Linked DNA regions of Homo sapiens: all the other regions are linked to region 1. Evidence: promoter capture Hi-C in 16 types of primary human blood cells and fetal thymus (Javierre and others, 2016). All regions are on one chromosome and are shown on one strand. Each heading gives the region's core, a stretch centred on a gene start or on the middle of the fragment in contact. The rest is flanking DNA. Distances are from core to core; before and after follow the strand shown.

The links. Contacts are between HindIII fragments. The CHiCAGO score rates a contact against its expected background, and 5 or more counts as called.
Region 2: a contact is called between a fragment that was not itself captured here and the fragment with the promoter of CIMIP3 in region 1, in 1 of 17 cell types (naive CD4 T cells). The highest score is 5.1, in naive CD4 T cells.
Region 3: a fragment that was not itself captured here is called in contact with the fragment with the promoter of CIMIP3 in region 1 in 2 of 17 cell types (endothelial precursors and megakaryocytes); the score reaches 6.0 in endothelial precursors.
Region 4: a fragment that was not itself captured here is called in contact with the fragment with the promoter of CIMIP3 in region 1 in 8 of 17 cell types (activated CD4 T cells, non-activated CD4 T cells, total CD8 T cells and 5 more); the score reaches 7.3 in activated CD4 T cells.
Region 5: a fragment that was not itself captured here is called in contact with the fragment with the promoter of CIMIP3 in region 1 in 9 of 17 cell types (total CD8 T cells, naive CD4 T cells, non-activated CD4 T cells and 6 more); the score reaches 9.8 in total CD8 T cells.
Region 6: a contact is called between a fragment that was not itself captured here and the fragment with the promoter of CIMIP3 in region 1, in 7 of 17 cell types (total CD4 T cells, non-activated CD4 T cells, naive CD4 T cells and 4 more). The highest score is 12.0, in total CD4 T cells.
Region 7: a contact is called between a fragment that was not itself captured here and the fragment with the promoter of CIMIP3 in region 1, in 4 of 17 cell types (megakaryocytes, naive CD8 T cells, non-activated CD4 T cells and 1 more). The highest score is 6.5, in megakaryocytes.

What each region holds. Positions count from the first base shown.
Region 1 is chr6:42,153,858-42,157,652 of GRCh38, forward strand. It overlaps CIMIP3 (ciliary microtubule inner protein 3), which reads left to right and starts at 1,549. Exons shown (of 2, transcript NM_001384994.1): 1 at 1,549-1,628. The coding sequence starts at 1,620. It overlaps GUCA1ANB-GUCA1A (GUCA1ANB-GUCA1A readthrough), which reads left to right and starts at 1,549. Exons shown (of 5, transcript NM_001319062.2): 1 at 1,549-1,736. The HindIII fragment of the contact is 11,083 bases long and covers 1-3,795 here.
Region 2 is chr6:41,747,065-41,750,369 of GRCh38, forward strand. It overlaps PGC (progastricsin), which reads right to left and starts at 333. Exons shown (of 9, transcript NM_002630.4): 1 at 212-333. The coding sequence starts at 270. The HindIII fragment of the contact is 1,482 bases long and covers 907-2,388 here.
Region 3 is chr6:42,546,399-42,549,768 of GRCh38, forward strand. It overlaps LOC124901317 (a long non-coding RNA gene), which reads left to right and starts at 627. Exons shown (of 2, transcript XR_007059578.1): 1 at 627-1,941; 2 at 2,546-2,774. RefSeq lists an enhancer at 1,495-1,674. The HindIII fragment of the contact is 6,264 bases long and covers 1-3,370 here.
Region 4 is chr6:41,828,243-41,832,035 of GRCh38, forward strand. The region is part of intron 3 of USP49 (ubiquitin specific peptidase 49); the gene reads right to left. Among named protein-coding and RNA genes, the nearest start is that of TOMM6, 42 kb to the left of the region's middle. The HindIII fragment of the contact is 3,275 bases long and covers 303-3,577 here.
Region 5 is chr6:41,790,228-41,793,702 of GRCh38, forward strand. It overlaps USP49 (ubiquitin specific peptidase 49), which reads right to left. Exons shown (of 8, transcript NM_001286554.2): 8 at 1-3,475. Among named protein-coding and RNA genes, the nearest start is that of TOMM6, 4.3 kb to the left of the region's middle. The HindIII fragment of the contact is 1,996 bases long and covers 670-2,665 here.
Region 6 is chr6:41,850,874-41,854,420 of GRCh38, forward strand. All of the region lies in intron 3 of USP49 (ubiquitin specific peptidase 49), which reads right to left. Among named protein-coding and RNA genes, the nearest start is that of USP49, 43 kb to the right of the region's middle. The HindIII fragment of the contact is 8,920 bases long and covers 1-3,547 here.
Region 7 is chr6:41,869,506-41,872,930 of GRCh38, forward strand. USP49 (ubiquitin specific peptidase 49) reads right to left here. Exons shown (of 8, transcript NM_001286554.2): 3 at 2,059-2,132. Among named protein-coding and RNA genes, the nearest start is that of USP49, 24 kb to the right of the region's middle. The HindIII fragment of the contact is 2,220 bases long and covers 523-2,742 here.

The DNA of each region.
Region 1 (3,795 bases), core at 299-2,798:
CCCTCCCCAGAGCGCTTGGAGATTGCCGGTCAGAGGCTGTGGCAGGGGAAGCCCAGTTAATGCTCCGCTGCTCCTTCTCTTTCTCTCCTGGTGCCTCCCAGCCTCCTTAGAAATTAGGGGTCATTACCATCAGGGTGTGAGATCTAGGGACAGCACACAAGTCATCAACACCCCAATTTCCAGTCTGCCTTCGGCCCCAAAGTGCATCTTGTCAGCGTTGACTCAGGGCCAGGAAGAAAACAAATAATTCCGGGCCCAGCCCAAGCTGGTGTGGCAGGAAGGCACCCAATAGCTCTATCTACCTCCCGCTGGAACTCTCTCCTTCCCCTCAACCAAGGGAGAAGCCCATGTCATTCCTACATGTGGGATTTCTGACATTACTCCTGGAAGCTGCCTACCAAGTGTGGTATTGGGGAGACAGGACCCTAGGGAGGTAGGGGAGCTGATTTTTGAAGATGGGGACAGGACAGCCCATTCAACCACCCACCCATCAATCCAATTACCCACCCACACATAGTCATAGCTGATGTTTACTCAATGCTTACTCTGTACCAGGCACTGTCCTAAGTGCTTTGCCCAACTCTATTAGGTAGGGACTTTACCCATTTTACAGATGAGAAAACAGAAGCATAGAGATGTCAATTAATTTTCCCAAAGTTACACACTAGTAAAGTAGTACAGCCAGAATTCAAGCTCAGGCATTCTAACTCCCAGACCTGCAATCCTCTATACCACAGCCATCACCATCTGTCCATTTACTGACCATCCATCCATCCACTCACACATGGTCACTCCTATTCAGCCATCTGTCTATCCACCTGTTCATCCATCCCTTTATCTCCCAACCCTCTGTTCAAAGCAATCCATGAGAAGGAATGGCATATGTAGAGGCTCAGAGGGGAGAGAGTGGGGCATGTCTAAGAAACTAGCTACTCCATAGAGAGCAAGGGAAAGATAGCAAGAGATGAGGCTAAGGAGATGAGCAGGGCTCAAATCACAAGGGTTGGCCCATCCACCATCTATCTGCCAACCCAGTCCATCCACCTGTCCATCCACCCTCCCACTCATGTCCACCCATCCATTCATCCACTCATCTCTGTAATTTGGAAGGCAGATAGATGATAGATAGATGATAAATAGATGATTGACAGGTGGTAGATGATAGATGATAGATAGATAGATAAATAGATAGATAAATAAATAGATAGATTAGATAGATAGATAGAATGAAGAGTTGCCAAGGTACATTTCCTTCCTGACAGTGATATTGGGACATGGGGGGATATTAGGACTTCTGGAGGCACCTTGATAATTAGGATGATCTCTCTCCATTCACCTCCTGCCCACAGTTTTAGGGTTCTATGGGTTTGTGGGAAGAGGGAATAGCATAGTGGGCCAGTGTCAAGGTTAAAAGACCCTTCCAGGTCCTGAAACGTCAGTCCCCAGCCCTGGCCTCATGTCTCCTTGGGAAGACAGAAGGAATTGTGTTGTAAAGAGGTGTCACAATGCCCCCTGCCCCATACAAGTTCTCCCCACCTTGGCACTCTCAGTATCCTGCCAAGAGTCCTCCCTGACCACCAGAAGTTCCACCTCACCATCAAGAAAGGCCCTGGTCCAGGATGTGCAAGGTGTGATGAAATCACAGGGCTGGGGAAGGTCAGCTCGGGGTCACAAGAAGCCTGATGGGCAGGAAAGAGCATGAAAGCCCCAGCCAGCCTCACATGTGCGGCTGGGAGGTAGGTCCTCTTACAAAAGGCTTAGTTGGGTGCTGGTGCTGGTGCTGCTGCCTGCCTTGTACTCCCCAGCTGTCGGACCTCTGCGATCTCTCTGGGGAGATGGAGAGAGGGAACAGGACACCCTCCATCTTGCTTCCTCTGCCCCTTCACTGCTGTAAAGTGTGTCCTGGACTGTTTGGTTCGTGTTACACCATCTCCAAGGCAAACTTGAGATAAATAATAATTGTAGCTAAAGTTTGAGTGCTTAAGAGGTCTAGGCACCTTACATGGACTAGCTCATTAAGTCCTCACATGAACCCTATGAGGTAGAGCTCTTGTTATTCCCACATTATACTTCGGAAAATTGAGGTACAGAGATTATAATTTGCCTAAGGATCAGGCAGCTAGTGAGTGAGAGGGCTGGAATTCTATTTATTTTTTTTTTGAGACTCGCTTTGTTGCCCAGGCTGGAGTGCAGTGGCACAATCTCAGCTAAGTGCAACCTCCGCCTCCTGTGTTCAAATGATTCCCCCACCTCAGCCTCCCAAGTGGCTGGGATTACAGGCACCTGCCACCACGCCCGGCTAATTTTTTTGTATTTTTAGTAGAGACGGGGTTTCACCATGTTGACCAGGCTGGTCCCGAACTCCTGACCTCAAGTGATTCTCCTGCCTCGGCCTCCCAAAGTGCTGGGATTACAGGCGTGAGCCACTGTGCTCAGCCATTTTTTTTTCTTTTTTTTTTTTTTTTACTTTTTTATAAAATAGAGATGAGGTCTCTCAATGTTGCCCAGGCTGGTCTTGAACTTTTGAGCTCAAGCAATCCTCCCACTTCAACCTCCCGCTGAATTACAGGTGTGAGCCACCGGGCCCTGCAGGGAACTGGAATTTGAACTGGGGTAGCTGGCTCCAGGCTCTCATGCTACCCAGTCACATGAGGAAGCTGAGGCCTACCCCCGGCTTCCCTAACCACTCCCTTCAAAGCCCCTGTGCTCCCCCAAAGGGAAACGTGCTCTCCTATAGGTTCAGACAGGTATGTGTGTGAAACCACGGTGTAACTGCCCGAGAGGCTGAGAGTAATGACTATTTGCACTGTGCCTTTACCGTTCCCAGCACTCATGGCACCCCACCACAAGCTGGTGAATTAGATAGCCTTATTATCCCCATTTTGCAGATGAGGCCCCTGAAGCTCAAAGAGGCTCAGCCACTTGCCCAAGGTCGCCTGACCTGTAAGAACAGGGTCAGGCCCAGAGCTCAGACCTTCAAACACCAAAGCCAAGGCACATTGGACAGCACCACGTGCCCCTGGGGGCCCTCACCAGCCTTCACACCCAAGTGCTATTTGCATTTCAATAAGGCACAAGGCCTTCCCCCAGAGTGAGGAGGCTACAGGTGGAATTTCTCACTGGGCAAGGCCATGTGCCTATGGCCCTGGAGGATTTGAGAGGACAGGGTGCCTTCCTAGAAAACCTGTAGTAATATCACAGATGAGATCTTCTTGCCCTACTCAGAAAGCCCCACTCTTGAGTCATGCACTTCCTCACTCTAAACCCCGGCATAAGGGACAAACGCATATTAGTATATATGTACATATTAATACATGTGTACTGTGCATCTGAAAGGCCTTTGTGGGGTCCGCCTGTGGGGATGGGGGTTATGAAGGGATATTTCTTTTTTCTGAGACAAGGTCTCACTCTGTCACTTAGGCTGGAGTGCATTGGCTGATCTCAGCTCCCCGTAACCTCCTCCTCCCTGTAACCTCCTCCTCCCTGATTCAAGTGATTCTCCTGCCTCAGCCTCCCAAGTAGCTGGGATTACAGGCGTGCACCATCACACCCAGCTAATGTTTTGTATTTTTAGTAGAGACGGGGTTTTGCCACGTTGCCAAGGCTGGTCTCAAACTCCTGGGCTCAAGTGATCTGCCCACCTCAGCCTCCCAATGTGCTGGGATTACAGGCGTGAGCCATGGTGCCGGCTCTTTTTTCTTTTTTTTTTTTTAATAGAGATGGGGTCTCACTATGTTGGCCAGGTTGATCTTGAACTCTTGGCCTCAAGCAATCCTCCTGCCTTGGCCTCCCAAA
Region 2 (3,305 bases), core at 398-2,897, 410 kb before region 1:
TTTTCCCTTTGATAGGAAGTTTCCTGAAGGCAGGGGCTGTGTCTCCTTCCACCCATGTGTCCTGTCTAACATCAGCAAAGGGAGACTTCCCTTCCCCTAGCAGAAGTCCCAGAGTAGAGACAGGCAGGGTGTCCCCTGGCCCAGTTGCCCTTTGCAGGGCTTTAGGCTCCCATCCAGGCTCCCTGCACCAGCAGCCAGATCCCAGACTCACTTGACCACTGCTGCCTCCAAGAGCTGGAGGCAGACCAAGACCACCACCATCCACTTCATGATGCTGGTCCCCAACTGGCCACAGAGGAAGAGCAGCTCTGAGTTCTGCAGTCGCAGTGGAGTGAAGACCTGGGCACTCTTTCCTCTTTTATACGCCCAAGATTAGTCTAATCGCTGCCTCCCTGCCCTGGGCAGCCATGACCTCAACCCAGGGTGTACCCTGTGCTTCGTGTATCGTTTCTGTGTATTTTTCCTTCTTGAGGGTGGCCGCAACAGACTTTCATCTTATTGACTTTTTGGTTCAAGCATCGGAGGCCAGGAGGTGCAAGCGATAAGAGAGAAAGTTGCCGTAAGATGGAGTGGTGAAGATTACGTCTTGTTCCCAAACCAGAGGCATAATGTGTGCATTTAGGGACGAGGGCCAGAAAAAGGTAGAGGCAGAGTGCTGGGATAGATAGGATCTATAGCCAGGGTTTCGCAACCTCAGTGCTGTCGACATTTTGGAACAAATAGTTCTTTGTTGTGGGCCCCATCCTGTGTACTATAGAATGTTTAACAGCATTCCTGGCATCTACCGACTCGATGCCAGGAGCAGTCCACCCATTGTGCCAACCAAATATATCTCCAGGCACTGCTAAGTGTCTTCTGGATGGGCAAAATCATTGAGAACTGCTTGTCTCTAGGTTATGTACTTGAAGCTTTGACTCCACTCCTAACTCCTAGCACCCTCAAACCCTCAGGGGAGGAGATAGGGGTGTCAGGGGGTCAAGAGGTCAGTAGCTAGTAGCTAGGATGCTGGTTACAATGATGGTGATGGTGAGGGTGGTGCTGATGGCAGTGTCGGGAGTTCTGGTGCTGGTGGTGGGGCTGGGATGACAATGGCTGAAGTCACAGCTATTTGAGCAGCTTCAGAGGCTTTCAAGGTCAAACAGGACATTTGGAGAAATGCTTGTCATAATTCAGCAAATGCTCAGGACACACTCACAGAGTAAGCCACACCAGCTTCTGGTTGTGCCTCTTGTACCGACCTAGATCAGAGGCCTGGAGCAGGGGCATATGAAGAGGGACAGGCCTGCGCCCTGCTGCTGTTCCTCGTTCTCTCTTCTGCCCCGCTGCGTCCCTGCTTCTGTCTTCAGTTCTCCTAAAGTGCCTATGTCTCCCATGACCCACTCCCAAGCCCTTGTGCAGCCCCCAAGTCTGATTTGTTAGTTCCTCTATCCCTCATCTCGGCACCCCCTCCCCCACCTCCCCCAACTCCCACCCCACTTCCCAGCTACCAGCTTCCCATTGCCTGAGGTGACCTGGAGCTGGCCCAGTGCCTGCTCACCTGGCCCAGGACAGCTCTCCATTTTGGAGTGAGTGGGAAAAAAATCCCCGTGCCAATAGCCTCTCTGCGACCTCGTACCCCACACTCAGGGCTCCAGGCAGATTTGTCAGGTCCTCAGGCCCCAGGCAGAAGGCCAGGACCAGATCTGTAAACACTGATATCATCCAGCTGGTGGGGGATTTTCCACTCTAGCCACTGCTACCCACTGCCCAGCCAGAGCCCTGGAGCTTCCCCAAGCCTTATAATGGGGGAGGGGAGGGAGGACTAGAAGTCAGCTGGGCCTGGCACAGAGAGGGAGGTCCCTACCTGATGGTGTCTCAAGCCAACTTAGCTTCCATTCCTCCCTGTGGTCCCCAGAGGTACATTGGACTATGAGGTGAAAGACAAGATAGGGAGTGCCTTCCCTGGGTTGAGGGGAGTCCCCATATTTGGGAAGCAGGTAAATAAAATTATAGGATCATTGGAATCTTTTTTTTTTTTTTGAGATGGAGTCTTGCTGTGTCACCAGGCTGGAGTGCAGTGGCGCGATCTTGACTCAATGCAACCTCCACCTCCCGGGTTCAAGCAATTCTCCTGCCTCAGCCTCGCAAGTAGCTGGAACTACAGGTGCGTGCCACCACGCCCAGCTAATTTTCTTATATTTGTAGTAGAGACAGGTTTTCACCATATTGGCCAGGATGGTCTCAATCTCTTGACCTCGTTATCCGCCAGCCTCAGCCTCCCAAAGTGTTGGGATTACAGGCATGAGCCACGCGCCTGGCCCAGGTCATTGGAATCTTGCCAAATCCTTTAATATAGCAGAATTCATGGGATCCCCTAAGTCATGTGAGGCCTCCAGATTCCCCAACAAAAGCTTCAGGGACCCTTTTCTTATCTGGTAGGACTCCAGGAGTCTGGCTGCTGCCAGGCTAACCTTCCGCAAACACCCAAGAAGTCACAACAAATCCCTTCCGAGAGTCCCTGATCGACTGCATCAAGCTAGGGCATCCCAGCTTGGCTGCCAGACCCTGGGGCCTACAGCCCCTGCCTACTCAATTGATCTTCTGACAGCTCGGTCAGATCCCAAGTCCTCTCCTGCCTGTGGTCTGCCCTGTCTGCTGCCCCCCATATCTGAAAAAACCCACATGACTAGAAGCTCCCAGAGAGCAGAGCCCATGGCTTTTGCATCCCTGTGCCTGGCTCAGAGCTCAGGAAATCTCTGAACAATAGATAGAGCTCAGGAGATTGTCTTGCTGGGGCTTAGTTATAGCTCCCACACCCCGTTATCCCAGGGCTCTGATTGCTAGCCTACACCCCCAGGAGATTTTGTCAAATTCTGGGTCCTCAGGTCCCCTCATGGTGGTGGTGCCCAGGCTTTTTCTTATCGCCTTCTAGTCTCATTTCCTTTAAGCATCACTTGCATCAAAACTCATCAGAAGCCCACTGCTAACTAAATAAAACTCAAACTTGTTATCTTGGCATTCAGGACATTCTCCATTTCCTACGTTTCCAAAATCATCTTCTACAACTAACCTACACTTTCCTTTCTCCCCAGGAGGCCTCTTATTTCCTCACCTCCATGCCTTTATCCATGCTATGCCCTCCATGTGAAATACCCTTCCCGAGCATAGTCACCTGTAAAATCTCCTCATCCTTCAAGACCCAGCACGAATGCCACAAAGTCTTCTCTGTTGAGCCCACCTATTCTCAAACTGACTGTTATTGTGGAGAATTTTGCTTTTGTTCCCTTCAGGTATTTATTTCATACCATCTTATATCCCAGTGACTT
Region 3 (3,370 bases), core at 695-3,194, 390 kb after region 1:
AGGCCGAGGCAGGTGGATCACCTGAGGTCAGGAGTTCGAGACCAGCCTGGCCAACATGGTGAAACCCTGTCTCTACTAAAAATATAAAATTAGCTGGGCATGGTTGCGCATGCCTGTAATCCCAGCTACTCGGGAGGCTGAGGTAGGAGAATCGCTTGAACCCAGGAGGCAGAGGTTGCAGTGAGCCGAGATCGCACCATTGCACTTCAGCATGGGCAACAAGAGTGAAACTCCATCTCAAAAACAAAACAAAAAAAGGAAAGACACACCCCAAACTCTTAATGGTGATTATCTCTCTACAATGGTACCGAAGGTCTAAGGTCTTTTAAATTGTTTGAATTCTCTTTTTACAGTTAGGGTTGCCAGATAAAATACAGGATGCCCACTTAAATTTGAATTTCAGAAAAAGAACAAATTGATTTTTAGTATAAGTACATCCCATGCAATACTTGGAACACACTTAAATAAAAAATTATTTGTTATGTCTCTTAAACCCAAATTTCACTGGGTGCCCTCTATTCGTATTTTCTAAATCTGACAACCCTACTTTTAGCTAGCCTTCATTTGGCGAGGCCAGCAATTCCCTTCAAAGTGAAATATCCATTCTCCGGCAATGTGCCATAATCTGATAAAGCAGGATTTTAATAGGTGGCCTAATTCAGATACTGAAGTTATTCTGTACAACGATGACAAATTAATTAGGGGTAATTCAGAAACAACTGTGCTTGAAGCTCTGTCTTCCCTTGATTTTTTTGACTGAAAGGGATGTGCCATCAATCATGAGAAAATTCAGGCGCCCTCCAAGATGCAGTTTGGCTCTGCCTCTGCCCGCTAGAGGAATTCACCCTGGACCAGATAGAGGCTTTTGTTTTTCAAGCCCCCTACCACTAAAAAGCAGGCATAGATATTAATGGGCATCTTGGATCCACATCTGGGTATTAGATTATTAGAAGGGCATCAGAATTTGCATGCGGTCCGAACCAGCCACTGCCTCCGAAGCCTTGCAGACCACAGTGCCTGCTGCCCTTCCTCTGGGTCCATATCACCAATCAGAATATGAAGTGTGTCTCCTTAACTGCTGATGACCGGAGCCTTCTGGGAATTCCTGAGGGAGGGGAAGGACTTAGCCTGTGGCTTCTAGTCCTGAGGATGCTCCCTTTGAATGTCAGTTACCAGCTGCTTATGGAAGCTAAGACAAGGGACATCAAGTACTTCGGGGTCCCAAGCTGTATAACAGGAATCGGTCACGTTCAAACAAAAGCTAGCTCCAGTGCTGAAGAGGAACTCCAGAGATCGAAAAGCTCAGCCCCACGGAGGTTGGTCCCTCCTCCGGCACTGCGGAGGCCAGCCTGGGCAAGGGCGCCCCCTGCAGGCTCCCGGCATCGGTGCCGGAGAAGCACGGTGGACTCTGAGCTGCCGCCGGTTTTGTGGGTGGCTTTGCCTCCCTCACTTCTAAAACCTCCAGCGGTGGCGGTCCCCTTATACCCTGCCTGGGGGGGATACTTGGAGAGGAGAATGAGGGGCTTCTTCCCAGTGGGCAGAACCAAAGGCAGTACCGATGACTTGAAGCTGGGCTCTAGAGAGCAAACAAGACTTTCCTGTATTCAAATTCGCAGGCAGTGATTTATGTTTAGGCCACTGGCTTGGCTGCCGGCTGTGGATTCCATTGACTGGCGGACAAAATTAAGCTCCTGGTTCCTCACGTGGATGCCATCAGATCCCTAGTGAAGAATCCCGTGGAACAAAGCTGTAGATGTTCTGATAAGATGAGAGAGGCAGACAAGTGGTCACATGACCAGAGAGACCGTGGAGGAGTGGATGCTGCCTTGGCCTGGGGGAGGACCCAACGTATTTAGCAGTCCACGCACGTGCTACTCACAGCAGCCCTGTGAGCTTATCCTTTCCCTACCCTTTTCTGTGCCTGGAGGCACCGGCCTAAAGGTAGGTTATATTTCACTGCTGCCCTCTCATCAGAGCCAAAACTATGTTGTCACAATTAATGCTGAATTCGGTAAAAGCCACCACTAAGGAGATGTACAGAAAAACAGCATTCCTGATTTCTTAGCATCTGATTTGTCAAGAATGGGTTTATAATCTGAATATAAAATGGCCCTTCCTACTTGCCCATCTCCTAAGCAGCAAGTAAAGGAGGGTGGAGGCATTGACTCCTCACTTTATAGCTGAGGATTTTCACTGACTCAGGAACATGCATGAGGAAGCCTACTGTTCTATCACAAGCCATTTACTCTCCTAATTGCTTCCAACATATAACTCCATGGTGACAGACCAAAGAGTGAGTAACAATAATGGGGACAGGTAAGAGTCCCATCAATAAATTGCCAAAACCCCAAGTACATCTGGTGATGCTACCTATGAAGGGATCTGATAAATACAAATAAGGAATTTTGAACTTTGCTTTGATAAATACAAGTGAAGGATTGGGACAAAGAGTGGGAAAACAAGGGAAAACTAACAAGTAAACAAATGAGTCTAAACTAACAAGTAAACATATGAGTCTAAAATGAAATTTCCCTCTACCTTTTAGGTTCTACATGATGATGGTGACCAATCTGATGAAAATCCACTAAGTAAACTGGGACAGGAACTTATAATTTCACAATTCACCAGAAAGATGAAAGTAAAAATGAAAACTCTTTTTAACTAAATGGTAGATAAATTATGAACAAACTATCCGGGAATCAAATCATAAAGGGGAAGAGGAGGGAGGCCGGGGAAGTACTGAATATGACCATAAACACAAATTTACTACATCAGTTAAGAGATCTTTGATTGAATTTATTTTTTCCAGATCAGAGCAGTTTTTTGTTTGTTTGTTTTGAGACGAAGTCTTGCTCTGTCACCCAGGCTGGAGTGCAGTGGCATGATCTCAGCTCACTGCAATCTCCATCTCCTGGGCTCAAGCTATTCTCCTGCCTCAGCCTCCCGAGTAGCTGGGATTACAGGTACGCACCACCCCACACATCTAATTTTTGTGCGTGTGTGTATTTTCCATAGAGACGTGGTTTCACCATGTTGGCCAGGCTGGTCTTGAACTCCTGACCTCAAGTGATCCACCTGCCTCAGCTTCCCAAAGTGCTAGGATTACAGGCATGAGCCATTGTGCCCAGCCTGATCCTGTTTCTTTTTGTAATGGCGCCTCCTAGTCAAGGATCAGCCCTCAATAAGCATGGGGTTATTCCCTCCAATAGGGAGCAGCACAAGCTACAACTCTAAGAGACTCCTCATGTAGCACTTGTGGACAGACTGAACCCAAAAGGAGCAGACTGGAATGTGTGTAGAGAATAGCCACACTCAATTAATGCTAATTAACACTCAGTTATTTGCAGACCATATAGGTGTGTAAACTCAA
Region 4 (3,793 bases), core at 690-3,189, 330 kb before region 1:
GACCAACCTGGCCAACATGGGGAAACCCCATCTCTACTAAAAATACAAAAAAAAAAATTAGCCAGCCATGGTGGTATGTGCCTGTAGTCCCAGCTACTTGGGAGGCTGAGGCAGGAGAATTGCTTGAACCCGGGAGGCGGAGGTTGCAGTAAGCCAAGATGGCACCACTGCACTCCAGCCTGGGAGACAGAGCAAGACTCTGTCTCAAAAAACTAAGCTGCTTTGAAGGTGCTATCAATAGAAACATCATATTTAATACTGGCAGAAACAAAATAATAGGCATTACATATTCCAAGAGATCAAGCTTTGCCTATTTTTTGATTAGGCTGTTTTATATTTTTCATATTAAATGATTGGAGTTCTTTATATATTCTGAATACAAGGCCTCTGGCAGTCAGATGTGTTGTAAATATCCTCTGTCTGCAATTTGTCTTTTGTTTAAGGCATCTTTTGTCATACATAAGATTTACAGTTAATACAATCATATGACGCATCTTATAATTTCATCTTTTGTTTATGAAATCCTTTCTTATGCCAAGGTAATAAAGGTACTTGCCAACAGTTTCTTCTAAAAGTTTGAAGTTTACACTTAGGTTGTCAATACATCTGGATTTTTTCCTCCTAGCCTCACCCTTAATCATTTGAAATTTTGATTGGCATTTATTGAATTTATAAACTTATTTAGGGAAAATTACCTCTTTATTATATGAAGTCCTCCCATCCATGAACATGCTATCTCTCTGTTTATCCAGGTCTTTTGATTATGTTTTCTCCCCAAGATATATATTTCTTGTTTAGATATTTCCTGGATACTTTATAGTTTTTTTGTGGCTACTATGAATAGAATCTTTAAAAAAGTATACATTTACTAAATGATTATTGCTGGTAGACAGGAATGTGATTGATTTCTGTATTAGGTTTAATCATATGAAACTGCAAATAAATATTTAACGACCATTTTGACCTACATAAATTATAATTTTGTATGGTTGAATCAAAAGGTTGCTGATCTGAAACTCAGCAACTTTGCAGAACTATTATTATTAGTTCTAATAATTTGTGGATTCTCTTGAATTTTTTTTTTTTTTTAAGATGGTGTTTCGCGCTTGTTGCCCAGGCTGGAGTGCAATGGCACGATCTTGGCTCACTGCAACCTCGCCTCCCGGGTTCAAGCGATTCTCCTGCTTCAGCCTCCCAAGTAGCTGGGATTACAGGCATGCAACACAATGCCCGGCTAATTTTGTATTTTTAGTAGAGATGGGGTTTCTCCATGTTGGTCAGGCTGGTCTTGAACTCCTGACCTCAGGTGATCTGCCCACCTCAGCCTTCCAAAGTGCTGAGATTACAGGCGTGAGCCACCGCGCCTGGCGGATTCTCTTGAATTTTCTATGGATGTCTACATAGTCTTCAAATATAGACAGCTTGGTCCTCTCTTTCTTGTCTTCTGGAATTAACCAGGAAGTTCAGTTGATTAGTAAATATTAAGGCTGATAGTGGGCACCATGTACTGTTCTTAACTTGAGAGGGAACAGGTCTGTAGTTTTACTGTTAAGTGTGATGTCTACCAAAGGAAGTTTTGGTTAACTTTAGGTTAAGAAAGTTTTTTATTTCTAGCTTTGTGAAAAAAATTTAATCAGACTAAATATTAAAGTTCATATAATGTTTTCTTCTGAACCTATTAAGAAAATAAGAAGAACTTCCCCTTTTAAAAATTAATATGTTGGATGATATCAGTGATGTATTTTCTGATATGAAACCATCCTTGCATATAATAATTTAAACAAACTATTTGGTCTTGATGTTTTGTTTTTTAATACAATAATACATTCAATTTGCTAGTACTGTTTAGATGTTTCAAATCCATTTTTAGAAGATTAGCCTTTCATTTTCTTATAATATACTGACCTTCCCTGTTTTGTACCAAGATTATACTAACCTCAAAACCTGAGATAGCAGCTTTCCCACTTTATCTCTTCTCTAAAACAGTTTAATTCTTCTATGGTTTATCTGTTCCATGAAGGTCTGATAAAACTTACCTGTAAACCTGTCTCATCTAGGCATTTTGTAGGATTGTTTCAATGTTTAATATAGCTAAGTTCAGATGAAGATCCAAAAATCCTCCCAGTGATCACAGGTCTCCAAGTCTTGGGAAATTATGCCTTGGTAACCTAGTGTCTACTTTAACCCCTACAGAAATTCCATATAAGTTTATACTTTTGAAAATAAATAAATAGTATGTTAATGACAGACAATGATGGAGCAAACAAAACAGATTTGCAACCAATTCAAATTTAGGAAAGCAGGCCAGGCGTGGTGGCTCACACCTGTAATCTCAGTACTTTGGAAGGCCAAGCCAGTGGATCACCTGAGGTTAACCAGTTCGAGACCAGCCTGGCCAACATGGTGAAACCCCATCTGTACTAAAAATACAAAAATTAGCTGGGCATGGTGGTGCATACCTGTAATCCCACTCAGGAGGCTGAAGCAAGAGAATCACTTGAACCTGGGAGGTGGCGGTTGCAGTGAGCCAAGATCGCACCACTGCACTCCAGCCTGGGCAACAGAGCAAGACTCCGTCTCAAGAGAAAAAAAAAAAATTTAGGAAAGCAGCACGAAGCACCAGTGCTGACTGGCCAAGAGATTGTTATACACTGGTGCTACCTGTACAGGCTGATTGATAGGAACCTCCACACAAGATAACCTGCATTGTCACTATAAAAGGTAGAGCTATCGACTGGGATTGGTGACTCATGCCTGTAATCCCAGCACTTTGGGAGGCAGAGGTGGGCAGATCACCTGAGGTCAGGAGTTCAAGACCAGCCTGGCTAACATGGTGAAACCCCGTTTCTACTAAAAATACAAAAAATTGCCAGGCGCAGTGGCTCACGCCTGTAATACCAGCACTTTGGGAGGCTGAGGCGGGCAGATCACGAAGTCAGGAGTTTAAGACCAGCCTAACCAACATGGTGAAACCCCGTCTCTACTAAAAATACAAAAATTAGCCGGGCGTGGTGGCATGCACCTGTAACCCCAGCTACTCAGGAGGCTGAGGCAGGAGAATCGCTTGAACCCAGGGGGTGGAGGTTGCAGTGAGCCGAGATTGTGCCGCTGCACTCCAGCCTGGGCAACAGAGCGAGACTCCATCTCAAAACAGAAATAAAAATAAAAATAAATAAAAATACAAAAAATTAGCTGGGCGTGGTGGTGCGCACCTGTAATCCCAGCTACTCGGGAGTCTGAAGCAGGAGAATTGCTTGAACCCAGGAGGCAGAGGTTGCAGTGAGCCGAGACCGTAACATTGCACTCCAGCTTGGGCAACAAGAGCAAAACTCCATCTCAAAAAAAAAAAAAAAAAAAGTAGAGCTACCATTTTTGAAATAAACTAATCATTTTTCTTCACCACTAACTCTCTTGAGCTTCTAAATCCATACTGCACATTAAACATTACTCCAAACTAAAATTAAAACCACCACCACAACAACCCATAACCTCCGCTTTTAATGGGCTGTCTGTATGATAAAGTCCAAGTTCCTCAGACAGACCTTCAAAAGTATCACATACAATCTGACCCCAAACAAGCTTCTCATATTATCTCCCACCCTTTCTTTGTGTCCAAACAACCAGATGGACTGGTCTACTCACTATTTCTTCAGACGTCCCAAGAACAGTCAATTCCTTGAGATGCTATCCTTCCTCTTCTGTACTAACCCTCAAAAGCCAGCTTAGGTCCTGTCCTTTTTTAAAGGCTTTTCCTGACCATTCTACTACCCAGTGAATCTCTCCCTCAAAGAAC
Region 5 (3,475 bases), core at 418-2,917, 360 kb before region 1:
ATAGTGAGGTTTGGTGGCAGAAAGAGGGCAGTGATGTGTAGGGGGAGGCAAAGTGAAGTAAGCCTGGGCAGTGGTCACTAAAGTGACACTGCTGAGGCAGCTGCTTCCTTCAGAAGGAAATGTTTTGTGACCCTAAAATTCATGGTAGTGCTACTGTCCAGGGTTTGGGGGCTCTTTGGAAATGGAGTATGTACGGAACTGGCATGTATAGACTTATATAGCCATAGAAAGAGGTGGATAGAAACAGGTCCACCATGGCAATATTTTTTTCTGGCCAGTTTACTAGGCATTAAAAAAAATACTGCTTTTATGTGCCAAGTCTCTTATGGAACTAGTATGGGATTAAAGGACGTTAATTGGAAAGGAGGGTCAGTATATAAGGACCACAGTGGCCTGTTAAGGATGACAGATGTCTCTAGCAGTTTGTTCACTACTAAAGTTAAACAGGACAAAATAGTCTTTCCTGACCTTGCTGGCATAAATATTAAGAAAATTGTTTGAGAATTAGATTTTTTTAGTATGTATATAAAAACAGCACCATTCTTTGTATAAATCAGATAGATCTTATCTGATAGATGAAGCTAAGACCCTTTGAGTCTACACTGGGTTGACTCTGAGAGGTTTATATCTTATTGGGTATTAAGATAAAGAAGGGTCACATGAGAGCAAAGCTTAGCTTTGAAGCCATCACCTCCCAAATGGTGACCAAGGAGGAAACTTTTAAGCCATAGTATAGATGCTAACCCCCATTTAGACCTGCATCAGATCACTTGCTAAGACAAGAAATACCAGCACCTCCTGTTCTTTATAGGAATGAAACTTAGATCCTTAAAGGCTGCTACCTGATATACTCATGACTGGACAGTTTTGATAAAAACTTCCAAAATTGAAAATCAAAATCCAGCAAGAATTAAGACATGGCAGCTTCCAAAAGCATAATTCAAATTTCATTCAAAATTTACTGTTTTGGCTTCAAGTAAGTGTTTACTGTTGGTTGGGTTTTAAAGCCATAATTATGGTTGAGTAAGGATTCATTTATTTATTTATTAAATTTTTATACATTTTTGAAAAGATTTCAAATCTATGTTTCCCAGGCTGGTCTTGAGCTCCTGGCCTCAAGCAATCCTCCCACCTTGGCCTCCCAAAGTGTTGGGATTACAGGTGCTAGCCAACTGCATCCAGCCAATGTTTCATTTCAACTGGCTTAAATCTTCAAAGTGGTTAAGAATTTAGTAAATAAAACTACTTAATCTACAACTTTCAAAAATTGATGAGTAATCACTAATTCTGTAAATGAAGGAGTTGGACTTCACTATTGCCAAAGCAACATTTTCCCCAAGGAAAGTCAATTTGATATCCTGTCACACTTTTCAGCCCTGGCTAGTTAACACAGTACTATGAAAATCTTTAGCTAGATTTTAAACGAAATATGCCAGCAGAAGTATGGAATGAGTCCACAAAAATGAGTGCCTGCCACAATGCTATAGTAGCTATGGTGTATTTAGTGCAGAGTGTGGGATGAATAAGTACATAGTAATTAAAGTCATAGTCCTGGCCCAACAGAACAGTTACTAAATGTAAGATACAAACTAAACTCACAGTCATATTTAGAAGGCGCTTTTCAGCTTTAGCACTGACTTAAAAAGTCTGAACCACCAGGAAGATGCGTACTTAACTGGTTAAAAAATTAAGTGGCCCTGGAAAGTTTTACCCCAAAGATACAACTTCTTCACTTATTTAGTTCAGTAATGAGGCTGAGGGACCCAATTTTCAAGTGTGCATTTGAGTGGGAAACTTTTAAACACCATATGTTGAAGTTTCATGAGCTCAGTGGAAACCTTAAGGTCAGAGTAAAAGAAACTGGCTGTAAACAGCCCTGCAGTGAAGAGACTGGGTCTTAGCACCTTCCACATTCACTCAGCGCCATCTCAGTCAGCGCCTGCCAGGGAAAGGGCATGGAGAGCTGGGACGGGTGCCTTCTCTTTTGCACCACTCCCTTTGCATATTACACAGTGCACTGGCTTGCCTTACAATCTAAGGTTCACATACAGGGGGTTTTCTATACTGCTTCCGGACATTTTTTGCAAAAGAACATCAGAACCAATGAAGGTACCATTTCAGGAGGAATCATTTTTGTTTGACTTCTGCTATATGTTGCCCAGCATTAGTCATTGTTTTGATAAAGACTAAAAGGCCTTTTCTCAACATTTGTGCTCTCCCAACCACCTGGGAAAGCAACCCTTCCACTCACAAGAGGTAACCTCAGATAGGGATATAGTATTCATTTAAGAAGGGGTAGCCCCCCAGCCTGATTTAAAAAGGCCCAAGTCAATGTATGGAACATGACAAGGGAAGTGAAAAACAATGGAGTACACAGTCTGCCTTGAAAAGCAGCCATTTGATGAACAGTCACAAATACAAAGAATTTGGACATTGTAACATAATTTCAGAACTTGCTGGTAAGAATAATTTGCATTCACACACAAGAGACATGAAATGCTTTTTAAAAGTCTGTGATACCAGATGTCCTTTAAACACTACACAGACCCATTTGCCACTTGAAATGACAAGAAGAAATCCTTTCCCTTAATCTTTTCAATTCCATGCAAACCGTAATTGAGTACAAGGCACCAAATTTTATGAATTGTATAAAATTAGTTCACAAAGCTTTATCAGTAAGTAGAACAAACTCCATTTCTCCCTCCCGGCCAGCCCACCCTCCTCCCACCCACCACCCGCCATCCCCGACCAAGTTTTCATTCTGCACTACTGTCGACCTCTCTAGGGCTTATGCTGGGGCATGCCCCACTGTCAGCCAATCCACCTCATTGGTTCTTCCCTTGTACTTGGATGAAGCTGTAAGCACAGCCAGAGTAGCAAACTCATACAATCATTGACTCTAGAAGCCTTGCCATTAAAAACAAAAATAAACTCTGCTATTGAGTCCATAGGACACATTAACACTTCTACAGTTTCCAATTTTATTCATGACATTTTAAGAGACATCTGGAAATTCTTTTTTTTTTTTTGTTTTTGTTTTTGTTTTTTTTTTAAGACAGAGTCTCGCTCTGTCGCCAGGCTGGAGTGCAGTGGCACGATCTCGGCTCACTGCCCCTTCTGCCTCCTGGGTTCCAGCGATTCTCCTGCCTCAGCCTCCCAAGTAGCTGGGACTACAGGCACGTGCCACCATGCCCAGCTAATTTTTGTATTTTTAGTAGAGACGGAGTTTCACCATGTTGGCCAGGATGATCTCAATCTCTTGACCTTGTGATCCGCCCTCCTCGGCCTCCCAAAGTGCTGGGATTACAGGCATGAGCCACCGCGCCCAGCCTGGAAATTCTTTACAGTGTAGCACTGCCCCCCAACCCTGCCCCATAACTCCGAGACTGAGGGGCTGGATCAAAGCTGGCAAGAGCTCTGTCCACCATTTAATAAGAGCTTCAGTTCTGCCAAGGGCATTCCTAACTATTTTTAT
Region 6 (3,547 bases), core at 221-2,720, 300 kb before region 1:
TACAGGCGTAAGCCACCGCGCCTGGCCATGGATAAATTCTTAGAAACACACAACTTACCAAGACTGAATCATGAAGAAATAGAAAAGCTGAAAAAAACCAATGAGTAAGGAGATTAAATCAGTAACCAAAAAACTGCCAACAAAGAAAAGCCCAGGACCAGATGGCTTCACTAGAGAATTCTACCAAACATTAAAAAATAATGAATGCCAAGTTTTCTCAAACTCTTCCAAAAACTGAGGAGGAGGGAACACTTCCAAGCTCATTCTATGATGCCAGCATTACCCTGACACTAAACCAGACACAGACATCAAGAAAAGATAACTACAGATGAATATTCTTTGTGAGTATTGAGGTAAAAACCCTCAACAAAATACTGGAAAATTCAGTAGCATGTTAAAAGAATTACATATTATCAATAAGTAGGACTCATTTCTGGAATGCATGTATGATTCAACATATGAATATCAATCAATGTAACACATCACTTTAACAGAATAAGGACAAAAAGATGACCATCTCAATTGATGCAAAAAAGGCACTGGACAAGATTCAACAAAACACCCTTTTATGACAAAACATCAAACAAAGTATAAATAGAAGGAAACTGCCTCAAAATCATAAAGACCATGTATGAAACCCTCACAGATAATATCATACTCAGTGGTGAAAGAATAAAAGCCTTTTCTCTAAGACAAGGAACAAGCCAAGCATGCACACTCTCACTACTTCTATTCAACATAATGTTGAAAGTTCTAGTCAGTGCAATTAGGCAAATTGGAAAAGAAGTAAATTTACCTGGGCTGGGCAAGGTGGCTCACACCTGTAATCCCAGCACTTTGGGAGGCCAAGGCAGATGGATCACGAGATCAGGAGTTCAAGACCAGCCTGGCCAAGATGGTGAAACCCCATCTCTACTAAAAATACAAAAAAATTAGCCAGGCATTGCGGCGGGCACCTGTAATCCCAGCCACTCGGGAGGCTGAGGCAGACAACTGCTTGAACCTGGGAAGCAGAGGCTGCAGTGAGCTGAGATCGCGCCACTGCACTCCAGCCTGGGAGACAGAGCGAGACTCGTCTCAAAAAAAAAAAAAAAAAAAAAAAAGAAAGAAAAGAAGTAAATTTATCTGTTCTCAGATAACATGATCTAATATATAGAAAATCCTGGGCCGGGCACGGTGGCTCACACCTGTGCTGTAATCCCAGCACTTTGGGTGGACGAGGAGGGCGGATCACCTGAAGTCAGGAGTTCGAGACTAGCCTGACCAACATGGTAAAACCCCATCTCTACTAAAAATACAAAATTAGTTGGGTGTGGTGGTACATGCCTGTAATCCAAGCTACTTGGGAGGCTGAGGCAGGAGAATTACTTGAACCCAGGAGGCGGAGGTTGCAGTGAGCTGAGATTGTGCCCCTGCACTCCAGCCTGGGCAACGAGAGTGAAACTCCATCTCAGAAAAGAAAGAAAAAGAAAATCCTAACGAGTTTGCAAAAAAATTGTTAGAATAGACAAATTCAGCAAAGCTGCAGGATTCAAAATCAATATGCAAAAATCTGCTGTATTTATATACACTAACAATGAACAATTCAAAAGGAAATTTTTTAAAATCTCATTAATAACAGCATAAAATACACTTAGGAATAAAACTGAGCAAGTGAAAGACTTGGACGATGAAGACTATAAAACATTGTGGAAAGAAATTAAAGACACAAATAAATGGAAAGATATCCATGTTCCTGGATTGGAAGACTTGGTATTGTTAAAATGTTAATCCTACCAAAAGCAATATACAGATTCGATGCAAGCCCTATCAAAATCCCAGCAGCAATTTTCTGAAATACAAAAATTAATTCTAAAACTCATATGAAATTTCAAGAGACCTTGAGATATTTAACACCAATGTTCATAGCAGCACTATTCATAACAGCCAAGAAGTGGAGGCAACCAAAATGTCCATCAATGGATAAACGGATAAACAAAATGTGGTATACACATGAGATGGAATATTATTCAGCCTTAAAAATGAAAGAATTCTGGCCAGGCACAGTGGCTCACACCTGTAATCCCAGCACTTTGAGAGGCCTAGGCGGATGGATCACCTGAGGTCAGGAGTTCGAAACCAGCCTAACATGGAGAAACCCCATCTCTACTAAAAATACAAAAATTAGCTGGGCATGGTGGCCTGCGCCTGTAATCCCTGTTACTCAGGAGGCTAAGGCAGGAGAATCGCTTGAACCCAGCAGGTGGAGGTTGCAATGAGCCGAGATGGCGCCATTGCACTCCAGCCTGGGCAACAAGAGCGAAACTCCATCTCAAAAAAAAAGAGCTGGGGGGGAGAATTTTGACACATGCTACAACATAAATGAGCCTTGTGGACTTTAGGCAAAATGAAATATGCCCATCGGAAAAAGACAAATACTGTATGATTCCATTTATATGAGGTATCTAAAGAAGTCAAATTCATAGAGACAAAGTAGAATGGTGGTTGCCAGGGACTGGGGAAGAGGATGGAGAGTTTTTTAATGCGTATAGAGTTTCAGATTTGCAAAATGAAAACTGTTGCAAAATGAAAAACTTTAGAACTGTTTCACAGCAATGCAAATATACTAAATACTAGTGAACTGTACTCTTGAAAATGAAGGGTTTAAGATGTTAAATTTTATGTTTTTTTACCACACACACAAAAAGATAAGCACTAAAACATTTGTCCAATGTAAGATCTCTGACCTCAGAGTTTACAATCTCATATAGAAGATGAGAAATAAGTACAAAGAACCTGGATAGGTAAGGCCATCTCAAGGTACCAAGGCAAACACTAAGAGTCTTACTAAGAAGCAGGGTAGGCCAGGCACAGTGGCTCACGCCTGTAATCCCAGCACTCTGGGAGGCCAAGGCGGGCAGATCACCTGAGGTTGGGAGTTCAAGACCAGCCTGACCAACATGGAGAAAGCCCGTCTCTACTAAAAAAAATACAAAATTAGCCAGGCAAGGTGGTGCATGCCTGTAATCTCAGCTACTTGGGAGGCTGAGGCAGGAGAATTGCTTGAACCCGGGAGGCGGAGGTTGAGGTGAGCCAAGATTGCGCCATTGCACTCCAGCCTGGGCAACAACAGCGAGACTCTGTCTCGAAAAAAAAAAAAAAAAAAAAAAAGAAGCAGGGTAGGCCAGGAGGGGTGGCTCATGCCCGTAATCCCAGCACTTTGGGAGGCTGAGGCAGGTGGATCACCTGAGGTCAGGAGTTCGAGACCAGCCTGGCCAACATGGTGAAACCCCACCTCTACTAAAAATACAAAAAATACCTGGGTGTGGTGGTGTGCGCCTGTAGTCCCAGCTACCCAGGAGGCTGAGGCAGGAGAATCTCTTGAACCCAGGAGGCGGAGGTTGCAGTGAGCCAAGATCCCACCACTGTACTCCGGGCTGTGCGACAGAGCGAGACTCTGTCTCAAAAAAAAAAAAAAAAAAAAGCAGCAGCATAAACTACAGTTCAACTAAGATTTCCCTGAACATACTTCCAACTAATATGATAAATCACCTGCGATTTCATTCTA
Region 7 (3,425 bases), core at 383-2,882, 280 kb before region 1:
TTCAAGAGAGGCTGGACAACATAGCGAGATCCCATCTCTACTAAAAATACAAAAATTAGCTGAGCATGGTGGCACACGCCTGTAATCCCAGCTAGTCGGGAGGTTGAGGCATGAGAATTGCTTAAACCTGGGAGGTGGAAGTTGCAGTGAACCAAGACTGCACCACTGCACACCAATCTGGGCAACAGAGGAAGATTATCTCAAAAAAAAAAAAAATAGAAAAGAAAAAAAACTCAAGAAGGCATGTCCTTCAAAATAGATTGACAGAAACACAACACAGCATTTGACATAGCTATCTAGAAACAAAAGAATTGTGTAGCCTGCTTTACAAGATACTTTTACAGGCAAGATGAACCTATGTTAGGCTGAAGATAGTTGTTTATTCATATATAACTATAAACATCATATACACCCTAAGATATACAGTAAAAGGTAAAGATATAGAACTTTATCCTCACACATAGTCTAGCAGCATACTCAGAGATGAAGTCAAAAGAAAACTTCTCATGAAAAAAACTAAAAAGCTTTTGCCACCATGGTTAACCGTATCTGAGATGGTTTAACTCTTGGAATGTATCAGAGAAAAATTTATGTGTGGATGGCTGGCACATAAAAAGGCTAACTGGGATACATATGAGAATTATAGTTAACATTTACTAAACACTTACTTCATTCCAGACATTATTTCAAGTTTTTTATATGGATTAACTAATCAATTGCTAAGAGATAGCATTTTATTGTCCTCACCTTATATCCAAGGAATTGAGGCACAGAGATAACATGTCCAAATGTCAAGTTAATAGTGACTGGTTAAAAACGGTCTGGCTCCAAATCCATGTTTTTAACCACTAGGCAAAGAAGGTTGCACAAATACATGCCATATACTTATAGACTCTGGGAGGAGGGTAAGATTCAGGTAGAGGATTGTAGTTATCTGTTATTTTTAAATTATTGACATGAATGTATAAACTTGCATAATTAAAAAAACTTTTATATCTCATAAACTTAAAGTCAAACCTTTTACTGAGCTTTCTGTAGAATTCTATTTTTTAAGAAGGTCTTGCTCTGTTGCCCAGGCTGGAGTGCAGTGGAATGATTATAGCTCACTACAGCCTCAATCTCCTGGGCTCAAGCAATCCTGTCACCTTAGCCTCCCGAGTAGCTAGCCACCACACCTGGCTAATTTTTTTTTTTTTTTTTGGTAGAGATGAGGTCTTGCTATATTGCCCAGGCTGGCTAGAATTCCTGGTCTCAGCCAGGCACAGTGGCTCACGCCTGTAATCCCAGCACTTTGGGAGGCATATCCCAGCACAAGGTGGGCAGATCACTTGAGGTCAGGAGTTTGAGACCAGCCTGGCCAACATAATGAAACCCCGTTTCTACAAAAATACAAAAATTAGCCAGGTGTCGTGGCGGGTGCCTGTAGTTCCAGCTAGTTGGGAGGCTGAGGCAAGAGAATTGCTTGCACCCGGGAGGCAGAGGTTGCAGTGAGCCACGATCACACCACTGCACTCCAGCCTGGGCAACAGAGCAAGACTCCATCTCAAAACTAAATAAATAAATAAAAGAATTCCGGGCCTCAAGCCATCCTCCCACCTCAACCTCCCAAAGCAGAATTCTATTTGATTACCACCAGACACACATCTGCACTTGCTCAAATGAACGGGATCCTCGTGGTGGGACAAACATCATAGCAACTGACATATTTGGAGAAAAAGAAGGGGTAGATAATTACTCTTGACAGGTCATGACAGATACGATCTCTATCTTACCACCAAGTTTCAAGACCTACCCTAGACTTGTTTCAGTATGGTTGCTGGTCTTTAGGTCCCATTTTAACTTCAAATATGGCTGTGTCCCCTCTTAGCTTAAGTTAATTCGTGGTACTAAAAAATTCACAAGGTTAAGATGAAAGCAAGCGGTGAAAGTTCAGAATGGAGTTAGACAAAACAGTAACTGATCAATTACCCTCATAGTATGCCAACCTCAGCCACACATAATACTATTATTATAAATAGCTTTCATTAATAATGTTTTATTACAGTTTTTATTTCTTACCCATTAAACAAGTTTTTTCCATCTTCTTCCATATTATTCCACAGTCATTGGTTAGGTTTCCTCTTCTCTATTACCTACAAGTGGGAAACAATCTGTAAGATTGGGCTAATACATGGCAAGAAAAAAGCAATTTCATTAATTGTAATACAAATTCAAAAAAGGACCAGTAAATTACAATGCATTAAACTCCCTACAAGTCCTTAAAACTGATGTAAGAGTAAAAAAAAAACTGTGATCTTTCTTTTCAGCTAAGAGTAACCAAAGAGTCAGTCACTTATGGGTAGACTGATCTACAAATGGAAGTATTAAAGGTTTACTTCCTGAAAAAAAGCACTTCTGCATTTGTTTTAGGTCTTAAAAATTACACATTATATTTGCATACAATCTGAAACTCAGGAAAAAACACACAAATTCATGGTAACAAAAATACTCGAATATCAAAAGCTAAAATTATTTTTGCGTAAGCAAAATATATAACAAGATGGCATGAGGTGGTGACTCTTTTGTGCTAAGTGGGTTTATGACCTATATGTAAGCGGCATGCTTCTTTAAAAGCGGTATATATTCTGTACACAAGGACAATATATTAGCCAAAGACATCTAGAGTTTATGATTTTGACAAATTATATGTATAAGCATGTTTAAGGTTTCTGACACATTATCAGGAAGTAGGACTCAGTATTAAGCTTGAGATCGGCAAGCTGGGCCACCACTGTAAGAGGAAAGAAAATTCTCTATTGTGTCATCCTAACAGCTAACACAGAGTTCCTCTTCGAAGAAACTTTAAGAAAATATGTTCCCGGCCGGGCGTCCGCCGCCCCATCTGGGAAGTAAGGAGCCCCTCTGCCTGGCCGCCGCCCCGTCTGGGAAGTGAGGAGTGCCTCTGCGCGACTGCTGTGCAACCATCCAAGTATGAAGTGACAGCCTTGTGTGTTATCTTTCTGTCCTCCCCAAGTTTGCATTTTCGACATTAAAGTTTACTTTTTAATTAAAAGTTTTAAATTGGAGTACATATATATATATAAAAAGAAAGAAAGAAGAAAATATGTTCCCGGCCAGGCACGGTGGCTCACATCTGTAATCCCAGCACTTTGGGAGGCCGAGACGGGCGGATCATGAGGTCAGGAGATCGAGACAATCCAGGCTAACATGGTGAAACCCCATCTCTACTAAAAATACAAAAAAAAAAAAAAATAGCAGGGTGTGGTGGCAGGCGCCTGTAGTCCCAGCTACTCAGGAGGCTGAGGCAGGAGAATGGCGTGAACCCGGGAGACGGAGCTTGCAGTGAGCCAAGATCGCGCCACTGCACTTCAGCCTGGGCGACAGAGAGAGACTCCACCTCAAAAAAAAAAAAAAAGAAAATATGT